Linked DNA regions of Homo sapiens: all the other regions are linked to region 2. The links are contacts of gene promoters, found by promoter capture Hi-C in blood cells and fetal thymus (Javierre and others, 2016). All regions are on one chromosome and are shown on one strand. The core of a region is centred on a gene start or on the middle of the fragment in contact, and the rest is flanking DNA. Distances in the headings are between cores, read along the strand shown.

Evidence for each region. The method cuts DNA at HindIII sites, captures the fragments that hold promoters and counts their contacts. A CHiCAGO score of 5 or more calls a contact.
Region 1: a fragment that was not itself captured here is called in contact with the fragment with the promoter of SKIDA1 in region 2 in 2 of 17 cell types (total B cells and naive B cells); the score reaches 15.8 in total B cells.
Region 3: a fragment that was not itself captured here is called in contact with the fragment with the promoter of SKIDA1 in region 2 in 6 of 17 cell types (total B cells, naive B cells, activated CD4 T cells and 3 more); the score reaches 20.8 in total B cells.
Region 4: a fragment that was not itself captured here is called in contact with the fragment with the promoter of SKIDA1 in region 2 in 3 of 17 cell types (naive B cells, total B cells and non-activated CD4 T cells); the score reaches 7.3 in naive B cells.
Region 5: a contact is called between a fragment that was not itself captured here and the fragment with the promoter of SKIDA1 in region 2, in 2 of 17 cell types (total B cells and naive B cells). The highest score is 17.4, in total B cells.
Region 6: a contact is called between a fragment that was not itself captured here and the fragment with the promoter of SKIDA1 in region 2, in 8 of 17 cell types (total B cells, naive CD8 T cells, M2 macrophages and 5 more). The highest score is 10.6, in total B cells.
Region 7: a fragment that was not itself captured here is called in contact with the fragment with the promoter of SKIDA1 in region 2 in 2 of 17 cell types (naive B cells and total B cells); the score reaches 5.9 in naive B cells.

Annotation. Positions count from the first base shown.
Region 1 is chr10:22,353,445-22,356,144 of GRCh38, forward strand. The region is part of intron 2 of SPAG6 (sperm associated antigen 6); the gene reads left to right. Among named protein-coding and RNA genes, the nearest start is that of SPAG6, 9.3 kb to the left of the region's middle. The HindIII fragment of the contact is 9,048 bases long and covers 1-2,700 here.
Region 2 is chr10:21,524,264-21,526,963 of GRCh38, forward strand. It overlaps SKIDA1 (SKI/DACH domain containing 1), which reads right to left and starts at 1,419. Exons shown (of 4, transcript NM_207371.4): 1 at 1,284-1,419. RefSeq lists enhancers at 811-1,454, 1,455-2,098 and silencers at 1,754-2,173, 2,294-2,443. The HindIII fragment of the contact is 4,259 bases long and covers 623-2,700 here.
Region 3 is chr10:22,308,338-22,311,064 of GRCh38, forward strand. No RefSeq gene overlaps it. Among named protein-coding and RNA genes, the nearest start is that of COMMD3, 6.7 kb to the right of the region's middle. The HindIII fragment of the contact is 2,535 bases long and covers 142-2,676 here.
Region 4 is chr10:22,415,798-22,418,497 of GRCh38, forward strand. SPAG6 (sperm associated antigen 6) reads left to right here. Exons shown (of 11, transcript NM_012443.4): 11 at 822-1,813. The coding sequence ends at 891. Among named protein-coding and RNA genes, the nearest start is that of LINC03027, 21 kb to the right of the region's middle. The HindIII fragment of the contact is 2,691 bases long and covers 1-2,671 here.
Region 5 is chr10:22,477,254-22,479,953 of GRCh38, forward strand. LOC124902392 reads right to left here and starts at 1,045. Exons shown (of 1, transcript XM_047426112.1): 1 at 1-1,045. RefSeq lists an enhancer at 1-294. The HindIII fragment of the contact is 4,700 bases long and covers 1-2,700 here.
Region 6 is chr10:22,436,022-22,438,721 of GRCh38, forward strand. LINC03027 (long intergenic non-protein coding RNA 3027) reads right to left here and starts at 1,908. Exons shown (of 1, transcript NR_036533.1): 1 at 1-1,908. LOC105376449 (a long non-coding RNA gene) reads left to right here and starts at 1,054. Exons shown (of 4, transcript XR_001747392.2): 1 at 1,054-1,130. RefSeq lists a silencer at 656-835 and enhancers at 1,306-1,355, 1,322-1,822, 1,656-1,815, 1,823-2,323. The HindIII fragment of the contact is 6,642 bases long and covers 1-2,700 here.
Region 7 is chr10:22,455,087-22,457,786 of GRCh38, forward strand. All of the region lies in intron 3 of LOC105376449 (a long non-coding RNA gene), which reads left to right. Among named protein-coding and RNA genes, the nearest start is that of LINC03027, 19 kb to the left of the region's middle. The HindIII fragment of the contact is 3,141 bases long and covers 1-2,700 here.

The DNA of each region.
Region 1 (2,700 bases), core at 128-2,627, 830 kb after region 2:
ACCCACTTGAGTTCCTTAAAACTTTATGAATTTATGTTAAAGTGCTACGCACGTACCTGACTTCTTGTACCTAAAAAGAAAACAACTGTGAACACAATATTACCCATTTTGCTTTTATTTTAACTAAAATTTACCTGAAAAGAGAGAAAATTGCACATTAATTTCCACAGCTGGTTTATTCATTATTCTATTCACATTTATTGAGTGTCCAAGTATCAGATGGATGTTTAGATGCGGACCATGCAAAAATCGGAGGCATAGTCCCTGTGCTTAAGTGGCTTATTTGCTAATGGAAAGACATATAAATAAATTATTGTTTATTCGAAGGGCACCTTACTCAAGATTTGGGAATGAGGGATATCGTTCAAGGGAGACATCTAGGAGGAGGTATATAATCACACAGATACTGTGCTGAATTTCCTAGGAGTTAGCCAGATAAAATGGCATTCAGGTAGAGGGAACGTTATGTGTAAAGGCACAAAGACAAGAGAAAAGGTGGTACTCATGGAAAAGGCCAATGTTTAGTTATGACTGGAGCTCAGGGTAATAGGGCAAGGAGAGGAGAGTCAGTCATGGTTGGAGAAGAAACAAGTCTAATTATGAAGGGCCTCGTATGAAGTTTAGATTTCTCCTGGAATTGATGGAAAGCCATTGAAGTGTTTTAATTGGAAGAGTCATGGGATCCACTTTGTGTTTTAGAAAGGCAATTTTAGCAGTCTTTTGGAGAGTAGATAAGAGGGGATTAAATCAGGATCAGGAGACTGGGTGCTCATTTTTGCTATAGCAGTCATGTTTGATAAGAAATGTTAAAGGGGTAACATCTGCAGGACTTGGTGACTTAGGAGTAGGGGTTGGGGCAGGTAAGGCGAGAGATGACTTCAAGATGCCTCCTGGACTTCTGGTTGCTTGGACACATTAGCACCATTCATCTGTAGAGAAAGGATGCAAAGAGCAGAGAGAAATTGTGATTTTACTCTTCAGTGGTTGAAGCGTGTCTGAGATATCCATGCGTCAGTGACTGTGGTGATGTAGAGTGCTAGGGCTCAGGAGACAGATAGCTGGAAAGAAAGATTTGGATATGTGGAACTAACATGTTAATTTGAAAACTATATTAAAAGCCCATTTTATATTTCCTCATGTAATTGTAAATATGTTAAGTTCCAATCATTTTATCTGGAGTATAATGCAAATCCAACTTCGCATAGCTTTCATGTTCTACATTCTCACTCAGTTGAGAATCTCACAGACAGATGGTGGTGGCTGGGACCTAATCAAGGGACAGCTGGCTAGGCACGGTGGCTCACGCCTGTAACCCAGCATTTTGGGAGGCTGAGTTGGGTGGAACACCTGAAGTTAGGAGTTCGAGACCAGCCTGGCCAACATGGTAAACCCCATCTCTACTAAAAATACAAAAATTAGCCAGGTGTGGTGGCAGGCGCCTGTAATCCCAGCTACTCGGGAGGCTGAGGCATCCGGGAAGCGGAGGTTGCTGTGAGTTGAGATCACGCCACTGCACTCCAGCCTGGGCAACAGAACGAGACTCCGTCTCAAAAAAAAAAAAAAAGAGTCAGACAGTTGCACTAGAAAAATGAATTAAATTTTGGTTTCATACAGTAACAATGGAAGACAGTTATGATTAATGCTAATGGTAGAAATAATGTGAATTCAACAGACTATATACCCTTTGGTATACATTCCAAACCTGGCACATAGGCCAGTTTTTCTTGGCAAATGGGCTGTAATAGACAGTAGGGAGGAGAAACCGGAGAGCATAGACGCGAGCCATGAAGAGCATCTACCTCATTGGATTGTAATGAGGGTTACATGGGTTACTATTTGTAAATTTCTTAGAGAGGTACCTGGCACATGGGAAATGCTATATAAGTGTTTGCTAAATAAGTGAATGAATTTATGATGTGCTGGTCCCCATCCCACCTTCCTCTCAGCCCTTCCACTAAAAAATGATATATCAGATATGGTAGTCCTTTACTCACAAACAACTGAATCAACACTGAATCACCAAACAAAACTTGGAAGATACTATAGCTAATGAGAATAAATTTCAAAGGAGAAAACAGATTATTCTTGCTCATAATAGTTTCTTGAATTATTTACTATTACAATTGAATTCTATGTAAAAAGGCCATACTTTTTGTGATTCAATCTGACACTTTAGATAAATTACAAGACTTTTTGTGTGTTATAAGGGATAACACCCTAAATCACAATTGACTTTATGTCTGAAAAAGTATTTCAAGAAAACAAGGCAAACAGATATGTGATACCAAAATTTGTAATTTCTTAATCAAATGCAGGAACAATGGCCAGAGGTATATAATCAATAAAGGCTGGGAGAAACCAAATCAAGGCCTGAAAATTCTTATTCTAAAAAAAGGCAGGGGAGGAACACAAATAATTTTAAATAAAAAATGACCAGTGAAGGAAATGAGAACATGTTATACAATTCATCAGTGTTGTGAAACTTGGTTCAGTAAAAATCATCATATAAATATCATAATTTGTTACAGAAATATTAAAAAATCTATTAGAGTAAGGATGATAAGTATAATTAGACTTACACTGTAACAGGAGAATATGTAATGGTTGTAGTATTAAAATCAAAGTGGATGGTAGTTTCTAGGTCCATTAGCACAAGTGTTGGGCTAGCTGTATATTGAGAACAAATTACAAATTACCTAT
Region 2 (2,700 bases), core at 169-2,668:
GGCACAACAAACGTTATGGAAAACGCACTCATTCCGTTAAATGCCGATACAAACCTGCCTTTTACTACATCTGTCTAAGCAGCGCATTGCTAAGTATAAACTTAAAAAAATTTTTTTTTCTCAAAGACATATCTATTATTTCTTGGCAAATACTATTTGGTGATGTGGTGCAAAAACACAATGGTAAAAAATTTCGGGGTATTTGTAAGTTTTCTGGAGAGTTGCAGGCCCCTTTCCTTTTGAAAGTTTAGAGCTCCAATACCCTCAATTCTACTGGCAGAATTAGGATGGACTTAGAGGGTCCTAAACGTGACCGATTCACTAAGGCGGGGGGGGGGGGGGGCTACAGCTTGCAGCAACGTGCTCTGCAACTTAATCCTACGCTAAAAGAGGGCAGAGAGCGAAAAAGAATGGAATACAAACTCTCCCGACATCCGTAGTTACTTTCAAGGTGGATTGTGTATTTTAAGGCTGATGGGAACGTCTGGTTTGTGGAGCAAAAAGAAGAGAAGGTAAGTGTTTGTCCTTGTATCCACCAGTTCGTAGAGAAACAATGAAAGAACAAAGGGAACCACTTCCCCATCTGAACATTTTCTGTATCTCCCTCCGTTTCAAGCCAAAAAGCTTGGGAAGGGATTCGCTTTACTCTACCTTAAGTAGTGGTTGCTGGCTTGTTGAACTAAGAATGAGAAAAAAGTTGAGAGGCAGATATAGACTAAATAATAATAAAAAAGGCTTGCTGTGGCGGATCTCCACCGCGCCAGTGTCAGCAACTTGCAGCAGAAGTTGCTCAATGCACGGAGGCAAAGCCCAAGAAATACCCTTTGCACACCAGATTTCGAACTCAGTCATTTAAATAGACTTTCTTGCTGTTTGAAGGGGTTTCTGCGCACAAAATGTGTAGGTAGTGGCTATGGGAGAGATGTACTATTTAGGTCGAAAAATGATCTCATGGCTATCTGGAAAAGAATTTTTAAAAAGGAAAGGGGATTCAAGTATCACGTTACTGTTTGCTAATAGAAGAAATGGCAGCACTGGCTGGGAAAGGAGAGGGATTCGTATTGAAATGCATTTGCTTTGGGGTACGCTGGTTATCCGCAAGTCTGGCTTTGTGGGTCTGCGTGGCTGAATAAGTGACCAAGTGCCTTCGGCATTATATAAACGGATCGATGTGTGCGGGAGTCCCCAAAGCCGTCGAGCACGTGAAACGCGACTTTTTACTGCCCTCCAAGCGGCGACCAAGCCCCGCTCCACCCCACCCCGCCTCAAAATCCGTATATTACCTGCCCTGTTACAGTGACACATGTTTATGTTTATAGTCCTGGTTTGTAGTAGTGTCAAGAACCGCAGCAAGAGGAAGGGGAGGAGAGAGGAGAGGGAGGAGTAAATTCAACCACCCCCACTTGTTGTTAAAGCAAATTTACTGCGTTATTGCAAGCTCAGGACGGGGGGCTGGGATGAGAGTTGAGAGGAAGGGTTGAGTTGGGAAGTGTGTTGGCGGTGGAAGGTGGGGGTGGGGTTAAGAGCTCCGCAATGGAGCTCCTCTCCCCAGCAGCCCAGGAAAAGCAGCTCGGTCAATAGGGGAGCATGCTGGCGCGGTCGAAAACAAAAAGGTTCCTCCTGCTCGCTGCGTTCACGTGGGGGGCTCTGCACGCGGGGCTCCAGGGCCGTGACCCCTGACCCCGGCTCCTCTCCGCGCTCTCCGGTGCCGCGCGGCCACTTTTTACCCAGGATCCCTCGCGCGGGCCGCGCTCGTGCCGAGCTGGAGTCCTTCCTAATCCTCCATTCCCGGCTCTCGCTCCCCGCCCCCGCCGCCAGCCCCGGGGGAGGATTCTCCGGCGGGGAACCCCCGCCCCACCCCCACCCCGACTGCCCCGGCGGAGTCGGCCGCAGCGAGTCCGCGCGGGGCGGGGAGGGCCGGGCCGGGCCTCCCCTACCGCGCCGGGCCTGCGAGGGAGGGGAGGGACGGGGAGCCGAGGGGAGGGGGCGCCGGCCTCCCGGCTCAGCTGCCCCACTGAGGCCTGGACCTGTTGACTGCGATTGGCCCGCCTCATCCCGCGCCCTCTCTCTGCTCGCAGCGGCCCCAGCCCTTCCGCGGCGTCGCGGGGAGGAAATGGGGATGGCTGTCCTCCTCTCCGCCTCCTTCTAACTTTCCTTTTTTTATTTGGGTGTGTTGGGGGGGGTGCTGAGAAAGCCCAGGCAACTCCACCGCCGCCCCATCCTGCCTCCGAAAGTCTCGTCACGCCCGACCCGCCGCCGCCCTCCCAGCCCCCATGACTTAAAACCGCCTCCCCTCCTCGCAGCGGCGCCCCGGCCCGGAGCCCGAGAGCCCTCGACGCCCCCGCCGCGCCTCCCCCGCCTGGCCTGGCCCAGCGGCGTCCCCAGCGAATTGTGTCGCTTTTCTGCCCTGGAAGCTCCCTCGGCCACGTTCCACTTTTTTTCCCAGTCCCAGGAGGCGTAAGATAAAACCTCTGATTTGCTGCGTGCTGCCGGGCACATTCTCTGCCCTCTCGTCCGAAGGACGAGTTTAAAATGGAGAGTTTAAAATAATAGCATTTACAGGAGGAAATAAAGAGCGAGGAGATGGTTCTTTGGCCGGTTTTAAGACATACATGCTTTTTTTTTCTTTTAATACAAGATGTCTTAAGGGTTAAAAGCGTTCTAGGGTTTGCTGTATTTCCTTCTAGATTTGGGGTTTCC
Region 3 (2,727 bases), core at 159-2,658, 780 kb after region 2:
GAATATGTTTAAATCTAGCCAAGTTTTTATCTTTATACTTTTCTTAAACTTTAATACCATAAAAGAAAGCTAAGATAAAAAGCTTAAGCAAACACAGTTAGATTGTCTTTATACTATTTATAGCAATGGACAGATACTTAAAGCTTACTTAGCTAAAGATTTAAGTCTGTTACTTTATGACATATGCTTTCCCCCAACCCCTGTTAACACGGCAGGATGTTTGCAAAATGACTACTCTCCTGTAGTGACTCTTGATTTTAACCTAACAGACTATCATTATGACTCAGTTTGAACATTTGTCATCATAGATGTCATAGTTTCTACAAACAGACAAATATTGATCATAGCAACTTTTAGAAATAGAATAAAACCAAAATGAAATTAAAATTAATTTAAAAGTATTCGTTTGAAAACACTCTTTTAGGTTTCTAGAAGCACTTTAATTATTGGTTAAACTGACTTCTAAACATCTGTATTTTATATTTTTATTTATGTTCATCTTGCTACAAAAATAATTTAAGGCAACTTTCAAAAGTATATAAAAACATATGTAAGAATATTATTTTCCTTCTATTATAATTGACAAGTGCAAAATCAATTTTTTTCCAACATTTCCAGTATACACTGTTGAAAGTTCTTTATAAAGAAGAATGTATATTGCTATTGAAACTTATAAAACAAAATATGTATGTCTTTATTGATACTTTTGGTCTTATAAAACTATTTTTTATTTCAATTCATAAACATTTTAATTATTGTTTAAGCAAAAATAAAAGTTTTCTTATAGATCTATCAACTACTCACCTATATATCACAGCTAGGCCTAATTTAAAATTTTCTTTCATTTTCAAATTCTAAGAAAACCATTTGAAAATTCAGTTTTCTTAGGGCCTTGTTTACCCACATATTTCCATCTACATTGTTATTCTTTAGCAAATTTCTCCTGTTTTTGGTCTGTAATTTATAGAGCACTAAAAGTCAAATAAAAGTTGCCAATTATCTGATTAATTTTGATTTAGAATACTGCTGCTCTAAATGATCCGGCCTATTTCTGTTAGCATTAAAAAAAAAGAAAAAAGAAAAAAAGAAAAGAAAGTTGAGTAATTACGCCAGTAATTCAGGTCCAAGTTTCTAATTACATGGACTAAACTGACTATATAAATACAATTCTCCCTTTCACCTGTTGCTAGTCATTATTTTCTTGGTGTTTTGTTACATTAAAAAGATTTTATAAAACTTGCCTCCCCATCCCCTTTCATAAAATATAGATTAAAATGCTTACACAAAGAAAATTAATTTTGAAAATAACATTTGAGAGAGTTAGAAAAACATTTATGTTTTAACCTTAATAAAACAATGAAACAAAAGTTCAGGGAAAAACTGAGTATATGGGAAGAAACACAGTGGAAAAGTTTAATCTATTTTTTTAGGTGCTTGTTTTCTCAAAACTCTGTAAAACTACTTTCTAAACATTCACCACGGTGTAAAAATCAGCTACGTATAAACAATTCAAAGTATTTTCTGAATAGTTCTAGCTATGTAACAAATGTGAAAAAGCTGAACACAATTATTCTACTAGGATTTTTAAAAATGTAGTTTTTAGACTGACTTATCCATAAAATGGCTTCAAGTCTATATTTAATTTGAAAAGGGGGATAAAATCAGTATTCTGTTGAATATAACAACCATAATAGAAAAGTTAAATTCTTTTTTTTTGAGACAGAGTCTCACTCTGTTGCCAGGCTGGAGTGCAATGGCACGATCTTGGCTCACTCAACCTCCGACTCCCAGGTTCAAGCAATTCTCCTGCCTCAGCCTCCCTAGTAGCTGGATTACAGATGCATGCCACCACGCCTGGCTAATTTTTGTATTTTTGGTAGAGACAGCGTTTCACCATGTTGGCCAGGATGGCCTCGATCTCCTGACCTCATGATCCACCCACCTCGGCCTCCCAAAGTGCTGGGATTACAAGCGTGAGCCACCGCGCCCGGCCCAAAATGTTAAATTCTTAACCAGTATCATTTTAAATATTGTACACAATTAAAAATATTAAAACACTTATCTAGGCTTTCATTGCCATGTAAGCTCTTTTGAAATATTAATTTTGGTTTAAATGCTTACTTTAAATGAGTTAAAAGTACTTTAGCTGTAAAGTCTCCTTAACTGTTTATAATGTATTTAATGCAAATCATCCCTTCTTATATACTAACTTCCATTCTAAAATGCTTCATTTGACAAGTGAATATAGTTACATTTTTCAGTTTATAAGCAATTATACTGTTACTTTGGTTTTAATCTACAAAAACCTTTATTTTTGTTTTCATTTTTGTTTGTAAAATTATAGTTCCTTAAACAAAATATACTTATTTGTACACATTTTAACATGTAAAAAGCATGTTCTCAAAATACAAACTTGAAAAAGTTACTGGCTTTCAACAATAATATCCCACAGCATAGGCCCATTTGTTCCATTTTTTGCTGGAATTCGTGAAACCAACCCAAACTCCAATTTCTAAGGTATGAAAAAACACAGAGATTCCAAATCCAGACCTAAAAAACGAAGAGACTCTGTTAGACATTCTCTGCTGTTGTAGTCTAAATGTAGGACATCTTGAAACTGATTAGATTCTGGACAAAACAGATGATCTTTCAGTCTTTTCCAAGCCTTACTAATGAAGCTTAGTTGAATTCATTGTAGCTAAAAGAATCTTGGATTGTGTCACAGAA
Region 4 (2,700 bases), core at 76-2,575, 890 kb after region 2:
TTTGAGAATTTTTGAATTATACTTCCATAGATTTAAAAAATTATTCTAGAATGCCTGCTAAATTTTATTTGACATTCATTTATCTGCATGTAAGTTATTTCCATGACGTATTAAGCATCTCACAATGCACTGATCAACATATTTAATACTTTTATACTAAATCTTGTATAAAATGTTCAATTTATGAATGTAAATGTATAGTACTATAGATGCCCAAGAACTATTAATAGTAAAAATGATTAATTTCCTAGGTTTCTATGATACAAGTATTTGTAAATAGTTTTTCAATACTAAATTATATTTTATTAAATAGTTTTTCAATATGAATTATACTTCCAGAAATTTTTGTTTTCCTAGGTGACCAGATCTGATTAAAACCCATGCTGAGAATGATCTCTAAGGCAGTTAGAATGCAGAAGTTGATTAGTAACAATAGACTGTGTAGTCTAACTTATGAAAAAAAAAATCTATTAGCTAGGATCCTTAAAGCAACATTAGCCACTTGATGTGATTAAAATGAAGTCTCTGTAATAAAATATTGTCAGTGGATTGAAGATTCTTGTTTGGAAAATGTCCCCTTTGCCATTACATTTATATCCCTTAAATGTTTTGCTACTTCTGTAGCACAGTTTTATGAATTCGTATTTTCCTCCTGGATAGCCTCTAACTTTATGCACAAAGCATTACTGGAGCATAATTATTCAGAGTGTATTTGAGATTTCACTCACAGGATTATTTCAGATAAATCCCCTATATTGAATCTTATGTGCCTGCTGTGTTGATCGTTTCACCAGCATTTAATAGTGTATTTTCTTTTTCAGGTATTATTCCCCTGGATATTCAGATACACTTCTGCAGAGGGTGGACAGCTATCAACCACTTAATAACTGAGCAAAGTTATATTGTGATACTCAAATTCACAGCAGAGTAGTTTTGAGTAACAGTAATTAAATCCTTCTAAATATTTGAACTAAGTATATTCTAGATTTATTTAATGGGAAATACCTTTAGATAATATTTTCTAAATTTATGTAATACTTTAAACATTCGTAGCTTGAATATGTGAGGAACTATTCATGGTCATTCGCATGCATAGGATTTGTTCTACAGGTAGATTTTAAAAACACGTTAAAGGGCCTTAAGGCATTTTGTTATTCTGTTAAAAACCACACACACTCGTACATGCAGACACCTCCAATGAGATATAGTTAAGAGATGGCATTCAAAAACCCTAAATTATTCTAGCCAATTTGTCATAGGCATAGGCAAGGAAAGCTGGCCTTGCTAACTATATAGTAGTATACACAAGAGAAATCTTTGAAGGAGGAAACTGATGACAGATATACAGGGCACTTGAAGGAGACTCTGATGCTAGTTATATAAGTGCATTAACTTAAGACACGGACTCTGTGGGTAACCTGTTAGGTTTTACTAAGAATTTAGGAAAAATTTACTCCTCTTTATCACAAGTTTTCCAAACCTCCTTCCCCACCCTATCTAAAGTGTTCCTTACCTTTCATGGGCCCAGCGAGGGTAGAATTCAGAATAGAGAGTTATACTCCTGCATACATGCTCTCCCTCTCATTGAAAGGTTTCTTAGTCTAGCTCTGCTCATGAATGAACAAAGAAGCAGGCATGTAAAATGGATCCTTGTCCTAACGTCACTTTCCCAAGTTTCAAAAGTCACATTTTCAGGTATTTAAGGAATAGTTTGAAGCTAATACCATCAGGCTCAGAGTTTACATGCATTTTTACTTAGGAAGTGGTAAACGGGTGAAAGAGGGTTTCAATAAAATTTTAAATAAAAACAGCATTAGAATTGTCCTTTTCATTTTTCCTATCCAGTGTGTTGCTGACCTTGGGGAATATGTGATTGGATTTATGGGTCTTGGTTAGTTGCTGTGTATGTGTCTTTTGCTTTAAAGGGATGTTACTTCTGCTGCTCTCTCCTGGAGGAGGTGAATGATAACCCACACAGCCCCTAGGCCACAGTGTTTCCAGTCTGACTCTGTTTTCAGGTTTCCTTCTTTGACTCTCTCTCTCTTTTTTTATTTTTTTCATGCAAAAGGAGCTACCCGTTTGTTTTTTGTATTTTCTGGATTCATCTCTGTCATCATTATTTCCTAACAGTGCATAACTTTGTTGTGTCTTTTAAAACTTCATAATACCCGAGATTACCTCATTTTGTTTTGCCTTATATCCGGCTAAGATTGTTGGTTATTTCATTTTTTTTTAATACTTCCTTGGGCCTGTTTTGTTTCCTTGCAGCAATTTCTTTGACCTGTTGAATAGGAAAATGTAATTTGTATTCCCAGTTTTGTAGCTTTCCTTTCTTTCTTTCATGCCTACACAGCTTGTCTTATGAATCTTTTAATTGGAGAAAATAAAAGTAGTTTTTATCTTTCTTCATTAGGGCTGTTTTTCTTAGATGTGTTGGTAATGACAGAAATTAGTTTATCTGGGTTAAAACCACCTCAGATATTGTTGGAATGTCAAATTTCCTAGTTGAAAATTTTCACTTCATAGATAATTTCATACTTATCAAACAGCACTAAACAAAGTAATAAAATACTTAATAGTGTTCAGATGGGTGTTATAATTTGATCATATGCATTGTGGAAAATTTATGCTATGAAATGTTTCTTGACATAAAACTCTTTAAACAAAATGAAGCTTTACTTTTTGAAAAGTATGTTGTGA
Region 5 (2,700 bases), core at 122-2,621, 950 kb after region 2:
CTCTTCGCCTTTCATTCTGTCGCCTGCGTCCCCAGCAGCCCCGGGTCCCCAGTTCCCTCCCCTCCACCAGAGGACCCTGCCTCTATCCTTCCCCCGCACAACTAACGCAATAGCCTGAGGGGTTTGGTAAACAGAAGCGGCCCCAGGAGGGGGTGGGATTCGCCCCGGGTGTGACCCAAAGGCACCTGCGGCGGCCCAGGCCCTGGGCGAGGCCTGCCGGCCTTGTAAAGGCCTCCGCGTCTGTGCGCGGCAAAGCAGCCCTAACGGTTTCACCGCAGCCCACGTCTCTCCAGTCTGCAGGCCCGGCCTTCCCTGTGCCCGGCTGCGTCCGGGCCGTTCTTCCCCACCGCGCCTGCAGCCCGCTCCCTCCCCAGGGGCTTATCTTGTGCCCCTAAGTGGCTGCGCGCAGCCGAGAAGGGGTGCCCGGCTGCGAGGGGGCCGCTAGCCAGGAACTCTGCGCGCTCTCCCCAGGGTCGTCTGGAGCCCGGGGGTCGTACACTGCTGCAGTTCCTCGTCATCCACCGCCCTCTCTGGAGACGCGATGCCAAAGCTGAGAGCCGGGCGGTGGTGGGGAGCCAGGGTCTCGCCGCGACTCCGGGGACGCCCAGGCTGACGCTGCCTGCGTCCACTGCTCAGGTCTCCCTCAATGTCGGCTCCTCTTCTTGTCCCAGGGGCTTGCGACGCCCCGGGGAGGCCGCTTCTCGTCCAGCAGGCGTGGAGCCGTCAGCAAGGGGAGGCCTTGGGGGAGCCCAGCCGCGTTCAGCCCGAGAAAGCTGGTGGAGACGGCCAGGAGCCCGTCCGGAGGACACACCTGTCGCCGCCTAAGAAGGCCGGGCTCTCCATGCGCAGACCTGGTCGCTCAGACTCGTAAGGCACCACTGTAGGCTGAGAAGCGCTGTCTAATTATGTCTTGCCTGCTTATTTCAGTTCGAGACTTGTGTGCCCGCAAACCGCTGCCCAAGGCAGAGGTGCTGTCTACTTCCTGGGGATTATGATGGTTATTTAAATACATAACTGTCTGTTTACTTGATATATTTCCACTTAAATTACAAGAGGAAAGTTCAAATTGCAAAATAAGGATTCAGGTAAAGCACCCAAAGAAGTTAAATTACCTCTAATTATGTTTCAATTTAGAATGCAGACCCAATTAAAAGAAACTAAGCGTTCCACAACCTGAAATTGCCAGTGATCAGACTGATGGTCACAGAGTTTCATGATTGCTAACCTTCTACTGACATGAGAAACAAGAAATCCACCTGGGCTACTTCAAGACTGTAGCTCTTGTGGGCAGTTTCTGCAGGTCACTCGAGGCAAGATCAACTTTTTTGCTAAATCAAAGTTTCCTGTATAATTAACATAGGCTCAAGGCTCTGGCAGCAAATAGTTAACTGAGGCCCAGAGCTGGGGACAGCCATTTTGGTGGGCAGATGGCAGGTCAGTGCTGCTCTCATAAAACCACTGTGGTTTGCATCTTCGCTTTTCTTCCCCGGCCCAACCCCAAGTCTAGCACTCAGGTCACCTGGGTGGGGAAGGAGCCTGCCTGATGGGCAGAAGTTGGTCGCCTGGGAGGAGGGGGTCATTGAGGGCAGGAGCAGCAAGACAATAGGATGGCAGCAGTGGGCATTTGGGCAGGTATGGGTTTTACTTATTATACCTGCACCCAGCAGCTATTCAGTAAGTATTAAAGGACCCAGAGCTACATGAAGACCACGTGGGGTTGACCTTCTCTAAAGGGCCGTTGAGCTAAGCCACTTCATTTAGAATCAGGCCTCGAGCTTGCATGGAGTAAAATGTGTTCTGTCCCACTTTTCTTTCTGCTCTGGTGTGGGAGGCAGGCAGTGGTGGGAGCCAGGCAGCCACAAAGTCCTCCTGTCCCTTTGGAGCACAAGATGGCATCTGGAAATCAGCTAGTGGGAGTATTTCTTGGAATGTCTTGGAAACTCTTTCATCTCAACCAAGAAGGGTTGCACAAGGCTGGGATAGGCGTTTAAAAATTGTTCTTTGCTAATGACAATCCTGGGTGCTCTCTCTCTCTCTCTCTCTCCCCCCCTGCCCACCCAACTTTGTCTCTCTTCTCTCTCTTACACTCACCCACATATACACACAAATCTGCTGTTTTTGTATTTTATATTACCCTTTTTAGCTTGATAAAGATCAAAGTCACGTACCAAATAGTCTCTTGGAAACCGTACATACAACTCCTGGTCTTCTCTGGCAGTAAAAGTCTGAAAGCTGTTTTTGAATTCTGCTAGCTCAGCCTCACCCTACCCCTCCCCAGATGATGCAATACTAGAACAGGGCCCAGAAAGCTGCTGTGTCTGTCACCAGCTGGCTGAGTCTTGCCTCGAGGTGCCACAGAGAACTGGACCAAACAAGAGCTTTGCTGAGTGATTTTCCCCCAACAGCTGGAGCTGCTGCAGAAATCACAACGAAACACCCTTTGTTGTTATGGGACTTCAGATCTGACAGAATCTTTGCTGGTTCCTTATGACAAATCCTTATTATCTGCGTTTAAAGATGAAGAAACTAAGGCTGAGAGAGGTTAAGCAATTAGGCTTAGGCCACATAGAGAGAATGGGGGTCTTCTGTGTCTGTCTTGGGGCTTTTGCTACCACACCCATCACCATCACCATCACCATGGAGTCAACAGGAGACACTGGGCTATAATCGGTTTTTGGAGAGATGGTTTTGTCCTGGAAT
Region 6 (2,700 bases), core at 190-2,689, 910 kb after region 2:
CGGATTCAGCTCTCAGATTTTGTAAACTGTGATTTTCTCCCTTATTCCTCAACAACCACCTAGCCACGACCTTCTTTAACTCTTCCCCCAACCCCGAAACTTTTGAGGAAATGACTTTTCTTATAATTTGAATGTTAATAAACCGTACCCATTTAGAAACTACAGTTTGATGATTTGGGGCGACTGTATACGTCATGTTGCCGCCGCTCCTATTAAGATATGAAATTGTCCCACCACTGCCCCAAAGTTCCCCCGCTCCTGTGCATTCCATTCTGTCCTGTTCCACTCCTTTCCCAGGCAACTGCTTTGCATCGCCACTGTTGCTTCTTCTAGAATGTCCTATAAATGGACATCAGACCGACTATGGCTTTTTGGGTTCTTCCCCCCACAGCATCGTGTTTTTCAGCTCCACCCACGTGGTTTTGGGTATTAATCCTATGGTAGAACTAGCTAGATGCTGGAGAACTCATTATGCGCCGGTAGGTAATTTTAACCTGCATCGTCTCATCTCTATTCTGTCACAATAGAGGAAACTGAGGCACGCCCGGCGTGTGGGCGTGTGAGGGGGCACCGGGCCGACTTCCGCCCGTCAGTAGGCCTGGACCTGCTGGCACCCGCTGTCAAGATAGGGCCTGGCGTCGCGGCGAGGCATCAGCTCGGGCAGAAGCACAGCCCAGGAAGTGGGCGCGTCGCAAGCTCCACACCCAACCAAACCCGGGCAGAGGGCTCGGTGGGCGCGAGGCCGAGGGCCCAAGAGGCCGGGGCCGCTACCCCCTCGCCCCTGGGACGGCCTCCGGGTCTCCTTGCTCCAGCAGACAGGCCCGCGGCGGCTACTCCGAGGCGCAGGGGCAAGGCCGCAGCGGGCAGCGGAGGCCGAAACAGAGAACACACACAACGCGGACCGACAGCAGTCACCGCAGGGGTCGCCGGGGCGCGGCTCTATAAAGCCTCGGCTCTATAAAGCCGCGCTAAGCCGCATCGCGCTGCACGTTTCCTTCCGCGCGGGGCCGGCGCTACTTCCCGCCTTACCAGGCCGCCGTGCCGGGAGGAGCTGAGACGTCTGCAAGGCCGCAACATCTCGCAGCAGCTTTTCGCCTGCTTCCTCCGCTCGCTCTAGAGGGCACAGCAAGGTGCGGGGCTCAACCTGCCGCTTCCCCAAGACGGAGGTGGCCGCCACGCTCCCGCCCGCTGTAAACGTCCGAGCGGGAAGAGCGGCCTCTGGTTTCTGTGGTATCGGCTTCTGGTTTCTGTGGTATCCGGAGACTTCGTTTCCCGGCGCGAGGGAAACAAAGATGCTGGCGTGGAGCGGCCTGCCCGCCGCTATTGTCTGGCTGCCTGACAGGGAGCGGCCGCTTTCGCTTTCTTCTGCCGAATGGAACGTGGTGACTCGGGAGCCGCGGAGCGCCTTTCGAGGCAGCTTTGTCTGCGGAAAGGGAGCGCTGCGGACGGCCTGTCGGAATGGTCACCGCCCGCTTTCCGCGGGAGGCGCGCCGGGCACCGCTGGGCGATTTCTCCGCCTCAGCGAAAGAAAGGAGAAGCCGGCATTTGTGGCCGCCCAGTCTTCGTTCCGATTTGAGCCCTGGCGTCGGCGGGAGGTGACAGTGCTGTCCGCGCGCACCCCCTCCGTCGCCGTCAGGGTCGTGCTCCTTAGGTTTCCTGCGGTTTTTCTGCTGCTCTGAGACGGTCTCTGGGACCAAGTTCTCACAGCATCGTCTTCTCCTCTCGCAAATAATCTTTTTATGATGTTTGTTCTGCTGAATCCACCGGACGCCTCAGACACGGGCCCTGACGGCATCGCCGGCCTGGGGGAGGCGTGGAGAGAGGGGAGGAAGGCGGGAGGGCTGTGGGGCTGCTAGCTGATTTGGGGATCCCATCATCTTCGAATTTTTATGCAGAGCCCATGGAAGCGCCTGGTCAGAGAAGCGGGAGGAAACCGAACCTAAGAAAGGGGCTTGGAGTCAGCAGTGAAGAATCTATTGTTTATTTTAGTTTTGTTTTTAGATTCAGGAGGTAGAAGTGCAGCTTTGTTGCTTCCAGGTATTGCAGAGTGGTGAAGTCTGGGCTTTCAGTGCTGCCCCCACCCAAATAGTGTCCTTTGGACCCATTAGGTAATTTCTCATCCCTCAGAGTGACTACTATTTAAAAGGCAGCTATTGTTAGAGCTGGCAAGCTGCAAGGGCAAAACAAAACAAAACAAAAAACAAAACAGGGTTGGGGGGAGCATAGAATATTTTTTTTTTTTGACAGCAGCGTAGTAAAGTTTGGATTTAGAGCTTTTTGTTACTGCCCATCTCCCATACTCCTGTTTTATTTCTCTTTGTAGCATTTATAACCTCCTGGTATGATAACGCATTTTACACGTTTATTGGCTTCTCTGCCCACTTGATTTTTATCTCCTTTTGGAGAGCAGGGAATTTTTTGTTCCCTGGAGCCTAGCAGGGTACCTAGCAGTGTTCTGGGGGCTTTGTAAATACTTGCTGAATCAGTGGAAAAAAAAGAAACAGGGCACATTATCTAAAGTTATTGTGAGACAAACATAAAACCAAAAGGCGAATGATGCAAGGAGAAGTTATCTCTGAACCTGCTCTTTGTGTTTTGGAGCAGTAATACATTAGGAATAGCTAAGAAGGGGTCACGCCAGCATTCCATTTTCCAAATAAGAAAGTGAAACAAGTGAGCTCTCACTTCTAGGATGCCTTC
Region 7 (2,700 bases), core at 34-2,533, 930 kb after region 2:
ATGGCACTAGACTGGTTATTTTTATCTTTTTTTTTTTTTTTATTTTTAGAGACAGGATGTTGTTCTGTCACTCAGGCTGGAGTGCAGTGATGCAATCATAGATCACTGCGGCCTTGAACTCCTGGGCTCAAGGAATCCACCTGCTTCAGCCTTCTATGTAGCTAGAACTACAGGTATCCACCACCAACCTCAGCCCTGGGTTCTACTGGATGTGCCGGCCAGGGGCCACCTCTACTTCTGCTGGGGCCTCCCAATGCTGGCCCTCCACAGGTGGCCTCCGGAAACAACCCTCAGAAAGAAGGATGGTTCCACTCATACCAGAACCTTTTTTGTCATCTTTGCATTTTATACAGGCAGTCAGACCTCAGGCGTGTGCTCCATCAGAGGCCTGACCTCTCCTCAGTGGCTGTGATTATTGCCTGGAGAACCAGCCAGATTTTACGTAAATTTCAAACAAATCTTTTAAGAGTAGGGTCCTATCCTGGAGGCAGCTGGAGGGAGAAAAAGATCCCTCTTAGAACTCGGCCTTTGAAGTGAATTCCTTCAGCAATCTTGCTCTGAGCTTTTCCTGAATACAGCTGTAAATTGATTTGGGGTTTTTCCTAATGGGCTGAAAAACATAGCTTTCCTGTGTTGGGTGGTTCAGTGAAGCCACTATTTTACAACCACCCGGAGTTCCTTGAAAAGCCACCCTCCATGAGATCATTACAGATACATCCTGAGCTCAATAAAAAAGAAGTTGAGCCTGTGTTTCTATTGGTAGACTAGGCGGGTTCGCGGATACTTGGACACTGATTTGGGCATAGATTTGTGCTTACGCCATATAAACAGATTAATCTGGTATCTAAGCCATATAGATACTGGATTTCACTCTCCATCCATGTCTATAGGTATACTTTATTAGCTTGTTAATGCCTTTCTTTCAGAGAACAATTTATTTAGCCTTTAGAGAAGACAGTGATTTTAAAAAATGTAGCTTTATTAAAGAACCGTAGCCTAATCTAAAATGGTTTCACTGGTCTGCACATACCACAGGTTTACTGCGGTATAAAATACCAAATTCTCTTTATGTGTTCCCTAAATTACTTTATAACTTTATCTTTTGCCCTAATAATACTTGTCACAAAATATGGAGACCTACTCAATTTTACTAGTCATTGAAGGAATGTAAACTGAAACTAGAAGATAATGATTTTTTCACCCATCAAATAGTCAAGGAAATGGATATTGTCACTTCTGGCTGGTGTGACATCTAGGAACATATCCTGACACAGAATTATTCTTAAATAGGAAGAAGGGTATTAAGTACAAAATTACTTGCATTACTCTATAATAATCAAAATTATTCAACAAAGTCTAAATATCTGATTATAAGGGAATGGTTGAATGACTTACCATTTTGTAACTAACAGTGGCTCTGATGAACACATTGAAAAGGTTTCTGATATACAGCTAGGAGAAGAGCAGGACATGACACAGGGTACAGACTACAACAGCAACTATAGTATTTTTTTTTAATGTGCGTATAAAATGTGTTTCTAGTGACAGCCCCACTCCCTCCTTCAGTGGCTGTTCAGTGCCTTAAGACATCTGAGGCAATTCCCAGCTGTGCCCCCTCCACGTCTGCACTGCTCTGCTTCTATCAGGCTGGCCTGCTCTCCAGTGCATCCTGCCTCTGGCCTTTGAACTGCTGCTTTCCTGCCCTGATGATGCTTCTCTCCTCTTCAACCTCCTCATCTCAGGTTTTTTTATTTTTTGAAGACAGGGTCTGGCTCTGTCACCCAGGCTGGAGTGCAGTGGCACAATCACAGCTCACTGCAGCCTTGCACTCCTGGGATCAAGCGATAACCCCACACCGCAGCCTCCTGAGTAGCTGGGACTACAGGAGCATGCCACCATGCCCAGCAATATTTTTTTGTTTTTTATAGAGACAGGGCCTTGCTATGTTGCCCAGGCTGATCTCAAAATCCTGGGCTCAACCTATCCTCCTGCCTCAGCCTCCCAAAGTGCTGGGATTATAAGTGTGAGCCACCATGCCCAGAAAACAACAACAATAACTTTCATTGTATCTTTATTTTTTTTTTCTATGATTACTCTGAAAACACTGTTTGATGAGCCTTAGAAATCAATACCACTTTAAAACTACAGAAGAGTGGGTAGTCTGGAGAGACTATTTCACAATTGGGCCAAGGTGATGACTATTGTCAATTTTGTGCTCTTAGGCCTCATTAGTCTCATTCTGAGGATGCTTTATTCTTCCCTGAATTGATCGTATTAATAAATAAAGCATGTGGAGGGAGGAATCTCTCCTAAAAGAGGAGATCACTCATCCTTGAAAGTATATAGGATTTTTTTTTAAGTGTCTGCCTGGGGAAAATGCTGTGGCGGCATTAATAGACAACAGCATTTTAATTATGAATCTAATATATTTGTATCACAAAACCTGGCAATTTCAACGATAAAGTACTATGATTACACAAAGCATTTTTAGAAATAATAAACCTCTGCTGAATATGCTTACAAACCACATTAAGATTCCATTTCAGCTCTCCTTTGTAATATCAAATCATATGGGTAGGTTGGCTGTTTTAAAATGTATTAAATGTAAATTGATTTTGTATTGTCAGAAATAATATTTAGAGACATTCTGCCGTCTCTGTCACGACCCTTGCCTGATTCCTGCTCCATGTGTTTCTAATC